Linked DNA regions of Homo sapiens: all the other regions are linked to region 1. The links are contacts of gene promoters, found by promoter capture Hi-C in blood cells and fetal thymus (Javierre and others, 2016). All regions are on one chromosome and are shown on one strand. Each heading gives the region's core, a stretch centred on a gene start or on the middle of the fragment in contact. The rest is flanking DNA. Distances are from core to core; before and after follow the strand shown.

What was found. The method cuts DNA at HindIII sites, captures the fragments that hold promoters and counts their contacts. A CHiCAGO score of 5 or more calls a contact.
Region 2: a contact is called between the fragment with the promoter of SUCLA2 here and the fragment with the promoter of HTR2A in region 1, in 1 of 17 cell types (megakaryocytes). The highest score is 7.1, in megakaryocytes.
Region 3: a fragment that was not itself captured here is called in contact with the fragment with the promoter of HTR2A in region 1 in 1 of 17 cell types (fetal thymus); the score reaches 6.2 in fetal thymus.

What each region holds. Positions count from the first base shown.
Region 1 is chr13:46,894,178-46,898,427 of GRCh38, reverse strand. It overlaps HTR2A (5-hydroxytryptamine receptor 2A), which reads left to right and starts at 1,375. Exons shown (of 4, transcript NM_000621.5): 1 at 1,375-1,754; 2 at 2,194-2,933. The coding sequence starts at 2,522. RefSeq lists a silencer at 4,065-4,250. The HindIII fragment of the contact is 5,377 bases long and covers 1-4,250 here.
Region 2 is chr13:47,999,844-48,004,410 of GRCh38, reverse strand. SUCLA2 (succinate-CoA ligase ADP-forming subunit beta) reads left to right here and starts at 3,138. Exons shown (of 11, transcript NM_003850.3): 1 at 3,138-3,231. The coding sequence starts at 3,142. SUCLA2-AS1 (SUCLA2 antisense RNA 1) reads right to left here and starts at 3,006. Exons shown (of 2, transcript NR_189308.1): 1 at 2,589-3,006; 2 at 1,720-1,976. RefSeq lists enhancers at 329-926, 1,598-2,797, 3,174-3,363, 3,384-3,433, 3,454-3,503 and a silencer at 2,944-3,053. The HindIII fragment of the contact is 2,000 bases long and covers 2,967-4,567 here.
Region 3 is chr13:48,761,214-48,765,433 of GRCh38, reverse strand. No RefSeq gene overlaps it. Among named protein-coding and RNA genes, the nearest start is that of CYSLTR2, 110 kb to the right of the region's middle. The HindIII fragment of the contact is 413 bases long and covers 2,173-2,585 here.

The DNA.
Region 1 (4,250 bases), core at 126-2,625:
CCTATAAGCCAGACATGGGCCAAATACTTACACACATTATCTCAGTTTAGCTTCACTACAATCTTATGAGGAAGGTATTATCCCATTTTACAAGTGAGAAGACTGAGCTTTAAAGGGAGCAACTAGATGAGGCGAGGTTCTACTGTTTATGAGTGATAGAGCTAGGATCCAAAACCAAGGAACTCTAAGGTCTGTGTTCTCCGCTGCCTGCTCGCCAGCGTGCATATTTAACGTGGAGGGGTAGGAGGGTGGCAGGCATGGCAGTGAGGGGGGCACTAAGGCACCCACCCAGGAAATAGGTGGCTAGATCTCGACCACAGGGTGCCAGCTGCAGGCTGCAGGAGAGGACATGTGAGAAACACGCATACAGAGGTAGCACCGGAGACGAAGTGGGATCTGGCAGCGAGAATGAAGGAAGAGTCGCGGATAACAGCAGCTGTCTGAAGAGGTGGTGATTCCATCATGCAAGCCAATGGGTAGGAACAAGCACTGAGAGCCGGGCAGGGGGATGCGGAGTGAGGGAAGATGCTGAGGTCAAGGTCTCCCAGGCTACCATGGAAGGAGCCAATGGGCAGCTAGAGATTTAGGTCTGGAACTGAGAGAAATAATCAGCTATGAAGGTACAGACTTGGCCACAAACATATTGAAGGCATGAGAGTGGTTGAATTTGTCCAGGGAGAATGTGAAGAACAGAAGGTGATAGAACTGTAGCAAAACCCAACTATTGAGGAAAATATTTTCATGCCTGCAAAAAGAGAGAGATCGAACTGCCTCCTTTAGAAACCTACTTGGGAAAGGGCTTTCTTTACAAGTAAGGCAAGTTGTCATTACTGGTGGGGGAAAAAAATTGGTACTGCGAAACCAACTTATTTCCTACCACATGTGAGGTTTTGAATAATATCTGGGTGGCATATTTCTGCTGAAGAAAATAAGCCAGTTCAATGGTGTATCTATTAAATAAAAATAGTGCTAATAGTTTATCAGAGTTATCACCACAGACGTGCCTAGCCACCCTGAGCCTATGTGGCCAATGTCAGTAATTCCACTCTGGACACAAACACTGTTGGCTTTGGATGGAAGTGCCGGACACTCACAGCACTCCGAGGACATACTGTTTTCTAGCCTTATTTATGTTCTCTCTTCACCCTTCAGCCTAAAAAATTACCACAGTGCCACTTACCTACCTTAATGGGAATCTGCACAAAAGGCCATTTCTCCAGTTTCTCTCAAAAGCAAAGGAAAACTTCCCAATATTAATATGTAGCAAAAAGAGGGAGAAGAAAAAGCCTGTTTGGTCCGCCCTCCTGGCTGTTGCTACCTTGCAGCTTATGACATACACATAGAGGGAGGTCTGATGAAATGAACGAGACAGTCAGAGAGCTACTCCATTCCCGTGGAAACCAGGAGTCCCTTGGTGCAGACAGCTCTTCCTACTTTCCCATGCAGTTCTTTTGTGCGACTTTGAGGGGCTCGTGAATGATTTCTAAATGTGTGCCTGCTGAGGCGAGCCGCACAGGGAGGGAGGAACCCAGCCGAGCCGTGCCAGAGGAAGCCAACAGGATCCTAGCAGTGCGGGAGCTGGCTCAGCTCTTGCATGCAGTTTTTGAAGTCAGCAAAACAGAAACCAAATTACTATCATATTATGCTGGTGGAAGATCAAGAAGAGGGGACTCTACACCAGTTTAATTACTGTGAGAGATGCAGCGAGTCACAGAATAACAAATGTATCTCATGTGTGGACCCTGAAGACAAATGTAAGTTCTCATGCCGCTATATTTTATTGCTGTGTAATTTTCTTTCCGGTTTGAAATCATGCTTGGCCAACATGTAATCATTTCAATGAGAATTTCCAGGGAGGAAAGTTGTCTGCTAATCTTTACTTAAGACTTTTTTGTTTTCCTTTTATTAGCTAAGCAACATTATAGGAGCTGAAATTCCTGACAGCAGCTGTGGCAATTCAGCTTAAGAATGGCTGAGAACTGTAACCCAAAGTACATCCAATTACTATGGGATTAACACTGGATGTATTTTTAATTGACTTTCTTAATGTAGAATGTGTACATCCCCACTGTTTCTGATTGCATGCTATTTTAATAATACTGTTGCTAAACTAGTACCATCGGCATAACCAACAAAATGAGATATAGTTAAACAAGAGTCCCAGTAGTTATAAAACTTTTCTTCTTTGTCCAGGACATTTATCTTCCCGAGCGCTCAAAAAAAACCCTGCAACCTCTATGCTAAAAGTTCATTCTGCTTTTTTGTCCTCGGTTTGGTGAGAAAATAATAAAACCAAACAGTGGACTCTCCTAAAATTGTGAATGAAGAAAACTTACAGCCACCACAGTTCAGTTCTTTAACTATCATTGTAATAATGGAAGACAAAAATCCAGCCCCGGGAGAACAGCATGTACACCAGCCTCAGTGTTACAGAGTGTGGGTACATCAAGGTGAATGGTGAGCAGAAACTATAACCTGTTAGTCCTTCTACACCTCATCTGCTACAAGTTCTGGCTTAGACATGGATATTCTTTGTGAAGAAAATACTTCTTTGAGCTCAACTACGAACTCCCTAATGCAATTAAATGATGACACCAGGCTCTACAGTAATGACTTTAACTCCGGAGAAGCTAACACTTCTGATGCATTTAACTGGACAGTCGACTCTGAAAATCGAACCAACCTTTCCTGTGAAGGGTGCCTCTCACCGTCGTGTCTCTCCTTACTTCATCTCCAGGAAAAAAACTGGTCTGCTTTACTGACAGCCGTAGTGATTATTCTAACTATTGCTGGAAACATACTCGTCATCATGGCAGTGTCCCTAGAGAAAAAGCTGCAGAATGCCACCAACTATTTCCTGATGTCACTTGCCATAGCTGATATGCTGCTGGGTTTCCTTGTCATGCCCGTGTCCATGTTAACCATCCTGTATGGTGAGTGGCATTAGTTTCCCAGCTATATTCGCACTGGTAATAAAGAGCATGTGCATGCCACCAGCAGATGAGATGGGGCTCAGGGGGCAAACAAACTATAAATAGAAGTCTTTGTTTATAGACTAGAGCCTACTATGTTACTTATATTTTACTCTTAAAATGGGATTTCACATAAAAATCAGACAGTCTATGACCTGTGATCACTGGAGAGTTTTGTGCTTCAAAACGCGTACATCCTGTGTAAAAATGATCATTGGAGAGTTTTGTGCTTCAAAACATGTACATTTAATGTAGAAATTTTTATAAATTACCCCATACAGTCATAAACCAATAACTTACCCATCATTCTGAATCTACTTGATTTTTGCTTCTTTATATTCCCAACCAATATTCCAGCCTTCAGGACAGAACAGTTTTAATCTTTGTCACACAGTTTTCAGCACTTTTAATGGAGTGATAAAGCCTTCCCAATTACTTTGGAACATTTGCAGAGAGAACATTAGTGGTGCAATAGGTTTTATGTTAAAATATGCAGAACCTCAATTAGAATAAATGAATTACTCCAGTTTTAATTGTTCCCTGCCCAGAGAAGCTAATTTGGAAATGTGCCTTTGAATTATATCCTCAACTCTTTGAAAATGCATATGCATAAACTCCTCCAGTCTGGTTTGGAGGAGGGTGGGAAACAAATGGGAAGGGATTAATCTTGCTTTCTTCTCAACAGAGTTTGAAACAGTCAGACCTCTCAGCAAGGGACCAGAATGTGATATTCTTTCCAAATTATGAGTAATACAGCCAGATACCTCCTTAAAGGAGAGACTATTGTGACTGCTGACACAGGCACAAGCAGCAGTCACTCAGAGCTTAGAGACAGGTTATGATAGCTATCTTTAAAGGGAAATTTTCTGGTCAAGTCTTAGGGGCTAAGATTAAAAAACATCAACCCAGCCCTAGAGAATGTGAAGGAGGAAGGCGGTACGCAAGGGCGAGCAGGCGCCAGTTTGCACAAAGCTAGTAACACTCATTCCAAGTCCAGCCTTCACTTGACCATTTAAATGCCACACCGGAATGATTTCATTTAATTTGCCTGCCCTTTCCCCGGCATCCCGGGGAAGATTCTCGCTTCCCAAACCCCCTCCCCTAGGGGGCAAACTCCAGTGGGGGTAGGAGGAGTGACAGAGCGGGACCCAAAACAGAGGCTGGAGGGTGGGGTGACCCCCGGCGTCACCCGCTTGGGGAGCAAGGGCGCCCCCTGGCGGCCGCCGCTCTGAGAGCAGCCCGTTCCCTCCGGAGCCCCGCCCCTCCCTAGGCTGCTCC
Region 2 (4,567 bases), core at 1,889-4,388, 1.1 Mb before region 1:
CAGAAGTGAGAGAGAGAAAGAGGGAAGGTGCTAGGCTGTTTTTAACAATGAGTTCTTGGGAGAACTCTCACAGGAGCCAATACAATGAGAACTTCTCATTACCCAGAGGACAGCACCAAGCCCTTCATGAGGGATCGGCCTCCGTGATCCAAACACCTTCCACCAGGCCCCACCTCTAACATTGGAGAATCAGATTTCACCATGAGGTTTGGATGGTCAGATATCCAAACTATAGCAACAATTATGTTATCTGTAAATAGTGAGAGTTTTCTTTCTTTCTTTTCACTCCATATGTTTGTAATTGCTTTTCTTGTCTATTGCACTGACAAGAACTCCCAGCACTATATTGAATAAAAGTGGTGAGAGCGAACACCCTTGCCTTGCTCCCAGTCTTATGAGAAGAGCATTCAGTCTTCTCTCACCATTAAGTATATTAGCCGTAAGTTTTTTGTAATCCGGTTTATCAAGATGAGGAAGTTCCCCTCTATTCCTGTTTATCTGAGTTTTTAATCATGAATGAATGTTGGAATTTGTAAGATGCTTTTTTTGTTTTTTTTTTTTTTGAGATGGAGTTTCACTCCTGTTGCCCAGGCTGGAGTGCAATGGCACGATCTCGGCTCACTGCAACCTCTGCCTCCCTGGTTCAAATGATTCTCCTGCCTCAGCCTCCTGAATAGCTGGAATTACAGGCACATGCCACCACACCCAGCTAATTGTGTATTTTTAGTAGAGACGGGGTTTCTCTGTGTTGGTCAGGCTAGTCTCAAACTTCTGACCTCAGATGATCTGTCTGCCTCGGCCTCGCAAAGTGCTGGGATTACAGGCGTGAGCTACCATGCCTGGCCTGTTTTTTTTTTTTTTTTGTAATGGGGGTCTCATTATGTCACTCAGGCTGGAGTGCAGGGGCACGATCACGGTTCACTGCAGCCTGGACCTCCTGGGCTCAAGTGATTTCCCCCCCATCTCAGTCTCTGGAGTAGCTGGGACCACAGGTGTACACCACCATGACTGGCTAATTTTAAAATTATTTATAGAAATGAAGTCTTGCTATGTGGCCCAACCAGTTTGGTCTCAAACTCCTGGGTTCAAGCAATCCTCCCACCTCGGCCTCCCAAAGTGTTTGGATTACAGGCATGAACCATTGTGCCCAGCTACTTTTTTTGTTTTGATCGAAATTATCATGTGATTTTTCTAACTTAATATAGTGCATTACACATATTTTCAAATATTAAAACAAACTTACATCTCTGGAATATATCCCACTTGGTCATATTGTACAATTCTTTTTATATATTTCTGAATTATATTTGCTAATATTTTGCTATGGATTTTTCCATCAATATTCATGAGAAGTGTTGGTATTTTTTTCTTTTTGTACGGTCTTTTGCTGGCTTTGGTAGTGGGGTGATTCTAACTTCATACAGTACATTGGCAACTGTTCCTTCCTCTTCTATCTTCTGGAAGAGGCTGTATGGAATTGGTGTTAATTCTTGTGTAAACATTTTATAGAATTCATCAGTGAAAGCTTTTGGGCCTGGAGATCTCAGGTTTTTTTTTTTTTTAGTTTAAAAATTACAATTACAATTTTCTCTAGTTAGAGGACTATTTAAATTACCTTTTCATATTAGGTTATTTGTAGTAATTTGTGCCTTCTGAAGAATTCGCTCATCTTGTCAAAGTTGTCAAATTTATGTTATGTGGTGTTATTTATGGCATTCCTTTTTGGTGTCTGAAGGTTCTGTAATTATATTCCCTGGTATGTTCCTCACATTGGTAATTTGTGTCTTCTCTTTTTCTTTTTTCTTTGCAGTCTTGCTGGAGGTTTGTTAAATTTATTTATCTTTTCAAAAACCAGATCCTTGGCTGGGTGTGGTTGCCCACACCTGTCATCCCAGCACTTTGGGAGACTGAGGCAGGAGGATCGCTTGAACCCACGAGTTGGAGACCAGCCTGGGCAACATAGAGAGATTCTGTCCCTAAAAAAATAAAATAAAAAAATCAACCAAGCCTGGTGACACACATCTGTGGTCCCAAACTACTCCAGAGGCTGAGGTGGGAGGATCCCTTGAGCATGGGAGGTTGAGGCTGCAGTGAGCTGTGATCGCGTCACTGCACTCCAGCCTGGGTGACAGACCAAGACCCTGTCAATCAGTCAATCAATCAATCAATAGCTTCCCTGGAGACTCCAGCCTGCCACCAGCTTTGGTAACTAGTGGCCGACTGTCAGGCCTCTGAGCCCAAGCCTGCACGTGTACATCCAGATGGCCTGAAGCAAGTGAAGAATCACAAAAGAAGGGAAATTGGCCGGTTCCTGCCTTAACTGATGACATTCCACCATTGTGATTTGTTCCTGCCCCACCTTAACTGAGTGATTAACCTTGTGAAATTCCTTCTCCTGGCTCAGAACCTCCCCCACTGAGCACCTTGTGACCCCCGCCCCTGCCCGTAAGAGAAAAACCCCCTTTGTAATTTTCCGCTACCCATCCAAATCCTATAAAACAGCCCCACCCCTATCTCCCTTTGCTGACTCTCTTTTCGGACTCAGCCCGCCTGCACCCAGTTAAAATAAACAGCCTTATTGCTCACACCCTGTTTGGCGGTGTCTTCACACGGATGCGCGTGACACCGATCTCTTTGAGCATCAGAAGCGCATGACACCGACCATCTTCTCTTTGAGCATCACAAGCGCGTTACACCGACCATCTTCTCTTTGAGCATCACAAATGGTTTTATTCATTGCTGTAGGCCAAGGGCTCAAGGCTGTTTAGCACGAAGTAGACACTGGGTAATCATTTCTTGAATGAAACACATTTTACAGATGAGGCAACTGAGGCTGAGAGAAGTTAAGATCACCCAAGTGGCGGCGCTGGTCACCTTTACATTGCAATTCACTAGGAAGTGTTCAGGTTGCTCTGACCGCAGGGCAGATATTGGGGCTGCGGTGCCCAGTTCCAAAGGTCAAAGCTTGCTCCGCGCCCGCCAGGGAGCTGGTCTAGCGGCTGCAGTGTTAACCCGAGGCCCCGCCCCCAACGGGTGGCGCGAGGCGGGGCGTAGGTGAGCGCTGCAGAGAGGCTGCGCCTTGGGCCGCCTGTCGCCTGTGCGCCTGCGCGCGGCGCCGAGGGGACGGGGTCCGACTCAGAAATGGCGGCCTCCATGTTCTACGGCAGGCTAGTGGCCGTGGCCACCCTTCGGAACCACCGGCCTCGGACGGCCCAGCGGGCTGCTGCTCAGGTAATGCCTTCCAGTCCGCTGTCGTCTCGAGGGTCGGCAGGAGAAAGGGTGAGGTGTGAGGGGTCCCGTGGCCCGGCTCGGGGTCACTTCGCCGGCAGTGACATTTTCTGGGTGCCCTGCAAGGCCCTCGGGCGACTTGCCTGGGAGTGCTGCTCGCCAGGACTACGAGCGAGCCCATGTTTGCGCGGCTCTGACCCAGCCCTTAGTCCGCGAGGATCCCCGGCGGCCCGGCCGTGGCTGCTCCTGCAGTTTCTAAGAGATGGGCGGGAGCAGGTGGGCTCTGAGTGGAGGTGAGGGGGTCAGGACATTTTCTGCTGCCATTCCGGCGTCTGGCACGGTGGGCTGAGACTTGCGCCGCCCCTTTTTGGGCAGGGGGGAATGCCCTTCAAAAGTACTTTTGTGTTTCTTGGGAGCTGTCATAGGTGGGAATGTCAGAGGACCAGCGGTGCTTACTGACTTGCCTTTTGTGGGGCAAGGTAGGGAAGTTTCCCCTCTCCTCCAAGTAGTTGTATACTGTTCTACTTGTTAATAGCAGTAATAAGATTATGTTTTCTACCTAACCAGTTGGAGAGGTAAGAAAATAATCTTTTGTATAGCCTTATTTCTGGATAGGCTATAGCATAATAGTTACTGGCCTTGTTTTGAATATTTGATGTGTGCCAGGTAATGTGCTAAGCGCTTTACGTGTAGTTTCTCAGGTTTTTCAGCAACTGTGAGGAAGTCATTCAACACCTGCATCATTGTTGAACATATTATGGTTAAGAGAACAAGTAATTTGGACTAGGTCATATAGGAGGTAAGATCAAAGCTGAGATTTAATCCCAGAGGTGTCTGGTTCTAAAGCCGTGTACTTGAGTTGGCTCCACAACTTCGAAAACAAACATCTTCCTTCCAACTTTGACAACAAAAAACTGTGGAAGGGCATTATTGGTGTCCTAAGTCAATTCCAGAGTTTTGGGTTTTTTTCTGAAGTAACTCTTCATACATGTCATAGTATGAATTGATTTAGGGCCCTCCCGCCCCTACCTTTTTTTTTTTTTTTCATTTTTATTGAAGTTGTTCATACTTTCAGCCTAGGGGTAGTGAGTTCTGTGAGTTTGCTTCCCGATAGAAGTGACTTTTTGACCTTGAACTTCCTTCTTATGAATCTTAGAAGAGTGCTATTTAGTTTTTAGAAAATGGGGAATTTAGTGACAAATACGTTTTCATTCTAGTCAAAATCTTTATCTTTTTGGAAGTTCATTTAAAAGCCTTCATTTCTCCTTATGGAAATTTCCAATATTATTTTCTTTATAACAGTTGCTGTCTTCTACCCTGGTATTAAGAAATGCAGCTC
Region 3 (4,220 bases), core at 1,130-3,629, 1.9 Mb before region 1:
AAAGAATTGAAGAGGAGGTAACACTTCCAAACTCATTATATTAGGCTAATATTACTCTGACACCGTGGACAAAGATATTAAAAACAAGAAAAGAAAATTACAGACTAACATTCTTGATGAATATCAGTGCAAAAATCCTCAAAGAAATACCGGTAAACTGAATTCAACAGCACATTAAAAGGGTCATGCACCATGACTAAGTGGCACTTATACCTGGAATGCAAGGATGGTTCACCATATAAAAATCAATCAATGAAATATACCACATTAACAAATTGAAGGACAAAATCACATTATCATCTCAATCAATTCAGAAAAAGCATTTGACAAAATTCAATGCCCTTTTATGATAATAACACTGAACAAACTAGGAAGAGAAGAAAACTACCTTCAATATATATAATAAACAATATAATAAAATCCATATATGAAAAGCCCACAGCTAACATTATACTCCCATCCAAGTACTAACCAGGCCCGACCTTTCTTAGCTTCTGAGATCAGATGAGGTCAGGCATGTTCAGGGTGGTATGGCTGTAGACCATCATACTCAATAGGAAAAGACTGAAGGCTTTTCATCTAAGATAAAGAATAAGACAAGGATACCCACTCTCACCATTACTATTCAACATAATACTGGGAGTTCTAGTCAGAGCAATTAGACAAAAATTAAATTAAACTGAAGGCATACAAATTGGAAGGAAGAAGTCACATGATCTATTCACAGATGATATAATTTTATCTGTAGAAATCCCAAAAGATTCCACCAAAAAACTGCTAGGGCTAATAAACGATTTCAAGAAAGTGGCAGGATACAAAGCTGATGCACAAAAATCAGTTGCATTTCTAGATACATTTTTAAATAACTTAAATGAATTATGAAAACAATTCACTTATAATAGCACCAAATAGATGCTTCTTTCATGGGGCTGTCTTTCAACAGGTTAGATAGAGGAGTAGCACCCTGGGGAGGATAACAGAAATGTCAGAGTTCATAAAAGTTCAAGATCTTTTGCATGGCTTCTTTCTCTTGTGTGCTTATACCATTGCAGTTTCAGATTATAGTTGACTTCATAGAGAAAGAAGTTATATAAAAATCCATGTGATTCACAATTCTATCATTTTCCTTTAACCTGATTTTATTTGGAAATTTGGCCAAAGTATTTATTGCCTGAATTATTATTGTGTGTATTGAGAGCTCAGCATGCAGCCCAACCCTTTTCTATGATAGCAAGGGGAGGGTAGAAAGCTAAAACTGACATTTCCAGACTTCCTTGTAGTTAGGCTTCTGGATATGGGTTAGAGTCTGCCAATCAGATATGCTCATGGTAGAATGAGGTTTGAAACTGAACCAGGAAGAAGAGAGGGAGAAAAGGAGGAAGGAAGCATTCATTTTGCATTACAAATAAGGCTCAAATTCCCTTTGCCCACTCCCTGCAATCCTGGTCCATTTCCTACCCCAACAATGAAGGTAACCACTGCTATTAGATTGGTCTGTATCCTTCCATTCTCTTTCCATCAATTTTGCAAATATACATATATGCATATATGCTAATGTTTTAAGATGTGGATTTTGTGTAGTATTTTATTGTATCATACTACCATCTGCTACCTCTACAGCAACATTATGTCTTTGAGAACTTGACAGGTATGCATTATTCCATAGCATGGATACAGTATCACTTTTTAAAGTGATTTTCCTTTGGAAGGACATAAACCTAAAAATTGTTTCCAGTTTTCTGCTATCACAAACAATTTTGTACACATGTGCAAGAATTTTTCTTGAGCTAACACTAAGAAGTAGAATTTTTGAGTTGTAGGGTATGCACATTTAAATTTTCATAGATGCTGACAATGTATTTTAAAAGGGCTGTCACAGTTAACACCCCCACTATTTTTACTGTCTTTTGGTGTTAGTAGAGAAGCTTAAATTTTGGTGTCAGTCTAAGACTGCAAGAGTCATTTACAAGCAGTGGGACTAAGAGAAGTCATTTAACCTCCCTAAACCCCTGCTTCTTTATACTCAAAATGAGGATAAGTGTCTATGTCATGGAGTTCTTGCAGGGAATCGAGCTGAGGCCAGTAATACTTAGCACAGTCCCTGGCATATAGTAAGTGCTGATGAAAGGTGACTCCTACTCCTCCTCACCTTCCTTCTCTAAGATCTAAGCTTATCTATAAATGGGGCTATTCTATTATAATCTTTGCTAGGTTGAGATCACTTTGTTATTATTACTGTAGGATGTTTCTCCTTTTGAGAGGTACTGACACATCCTGGGCTGCATTTCTAAACTGGTCCTCTGAAAGAAACTTACCATGACATGGATTCCTATGTAATGAAACCACTTAATACTTTTAATTTAATGATGACACTGAATATGTGCATGGGCCATACTCAAATTTTTCCTGAAAGAACCACTTCCCTGTGCACTTAAGGATACTTACACTCTTCAAAAGTTTTGCATATGAGAGACTAAAATTAAGTTAATATCTTCAGAATGGCAATTTCCAAATGAAGTGATTTGTGCTCGTTAGCATGTTCTATTTAAGGCAAATGAATATATTGTTCTTTTTTACAGGAAGCTTTTAAGGTAACTCAGCTTACCGTGGAGTGGAGAGAGAATGTGATTGGGAGTCAAAGAGATCCAGGTTTGACTTTCAGCCCTGTCTCTTATTACCTAAGGGTCTTATTAAGATCCTTACTACTTCTGAGTCCCAATAATCATATTTATATTTATCTTGGAAGGTTGTTGAGAAGATTTAATGAGATAATATGTGCAAGTGCTGGACACATGGGGCATCCTTAAGAAATGCTGATTCCTGTCTATCCCCCCAGTGTTATTTACATAGGCTTCTGAATTCACCATCTATTGATTGAGTACAAGCTATGTGTCATCAGGAACTTCTATAGGCTGTGAGAGAGGGACAAATAAGAGAGACAGTCTCACCTTAAGGGGTTTTTAGTCTAGTGAGAAAGCTAGGCCATGGCTAAGTGACCTCAAGAGAACAATAAACACAATAACATTATGTCCAGGGCTCTCATCTCCCGATATGAGAAGTCAGAGGAACCTTCACAGAAGTATCTCTTGAGCTGGACCTTGAAGGATGAGGATGAGTTCACCAGGCAGGGAAGAAGAGCAGGTGGAAAAGCAAAGATAGAAAGAGCTGGGAGTGTTCTAACACTGGTGAGCATTAATCTTTCATCTCTAAAATATTTGGCCCGACATTCTTACAGTCTCTCCTGTGGCTGACATCTCCTGTGGTTCAAATGGACATTGGACTCACTAAAGAAGGGCACTGGACTCACTAAAGAAATCAAGAATTATTAATGTTCATTGCAGACTGGAACTTGGAACGCTGTAAATAACCCCAGCTCTACAAATCTGTCTGGAAAATGCTTAGTTCATGTTTGCTCTTTGTTACTTTTTCAAGGGAGTACTGAGGAAATCACAATTGTGGTTTCTGGCTGGAAATAGGTCCTATCTGTCACTATTGATCCTAAACAATTTGTCTCTCTGGAATCAGATTAAAATAGGTCCTATCTGTCACTATTGACCCTAAACGATTTGTCTCTCCGGAATCAGATTATTTAACCTCATTTCTAAAAGTTGTACTCAGGTGCTGGGTTAGGTGGATACTGCTAATAACAGCAGATGATCAATGATTCTTCCAGCAAACAGAGGAGTAAGTCACCTAGTGGGCAGAAAAGCCTGTTCCTCTGTGCCCATTTAATAAAAAAAATTATCCAGAGCACAAATTAATTTGTCATTAAAAGTGGCCATTCTCAGATATAGTTCTTACATCTTTTGTACTATTTTATAAACTATAGGCATCTGCCAGCAGCTGCTGGAACAGGAAAGTTTATATCCAGGCAGAGGGAAAAAAACATGGTAGAAAATGAGCAGGCTGAAACCAATATGAAGAAATGCCAGAAGAAAAAATGCACAATCAACTTTTGTCGTGTATTTTAAAATAAACTCTCTGGTCCAGTTGTAGCCGAGAATGACTCATCCCATCCACAGAAGCACCAAAGGGAATGGGGCAGGAAGGATGAACAGAAACAAGATTCTGTTTTACATAATTCTTATTTTCATGCAAAAAGGTATTCAAATAGCACATGAAATTGGCCAGTAATGTACCTCACTATTTACCTCACTATTTACAATGTCAGACAAAATGCAGGAGAGTTTGCTAGATAAGAATTATGACAGCCAGTCAAT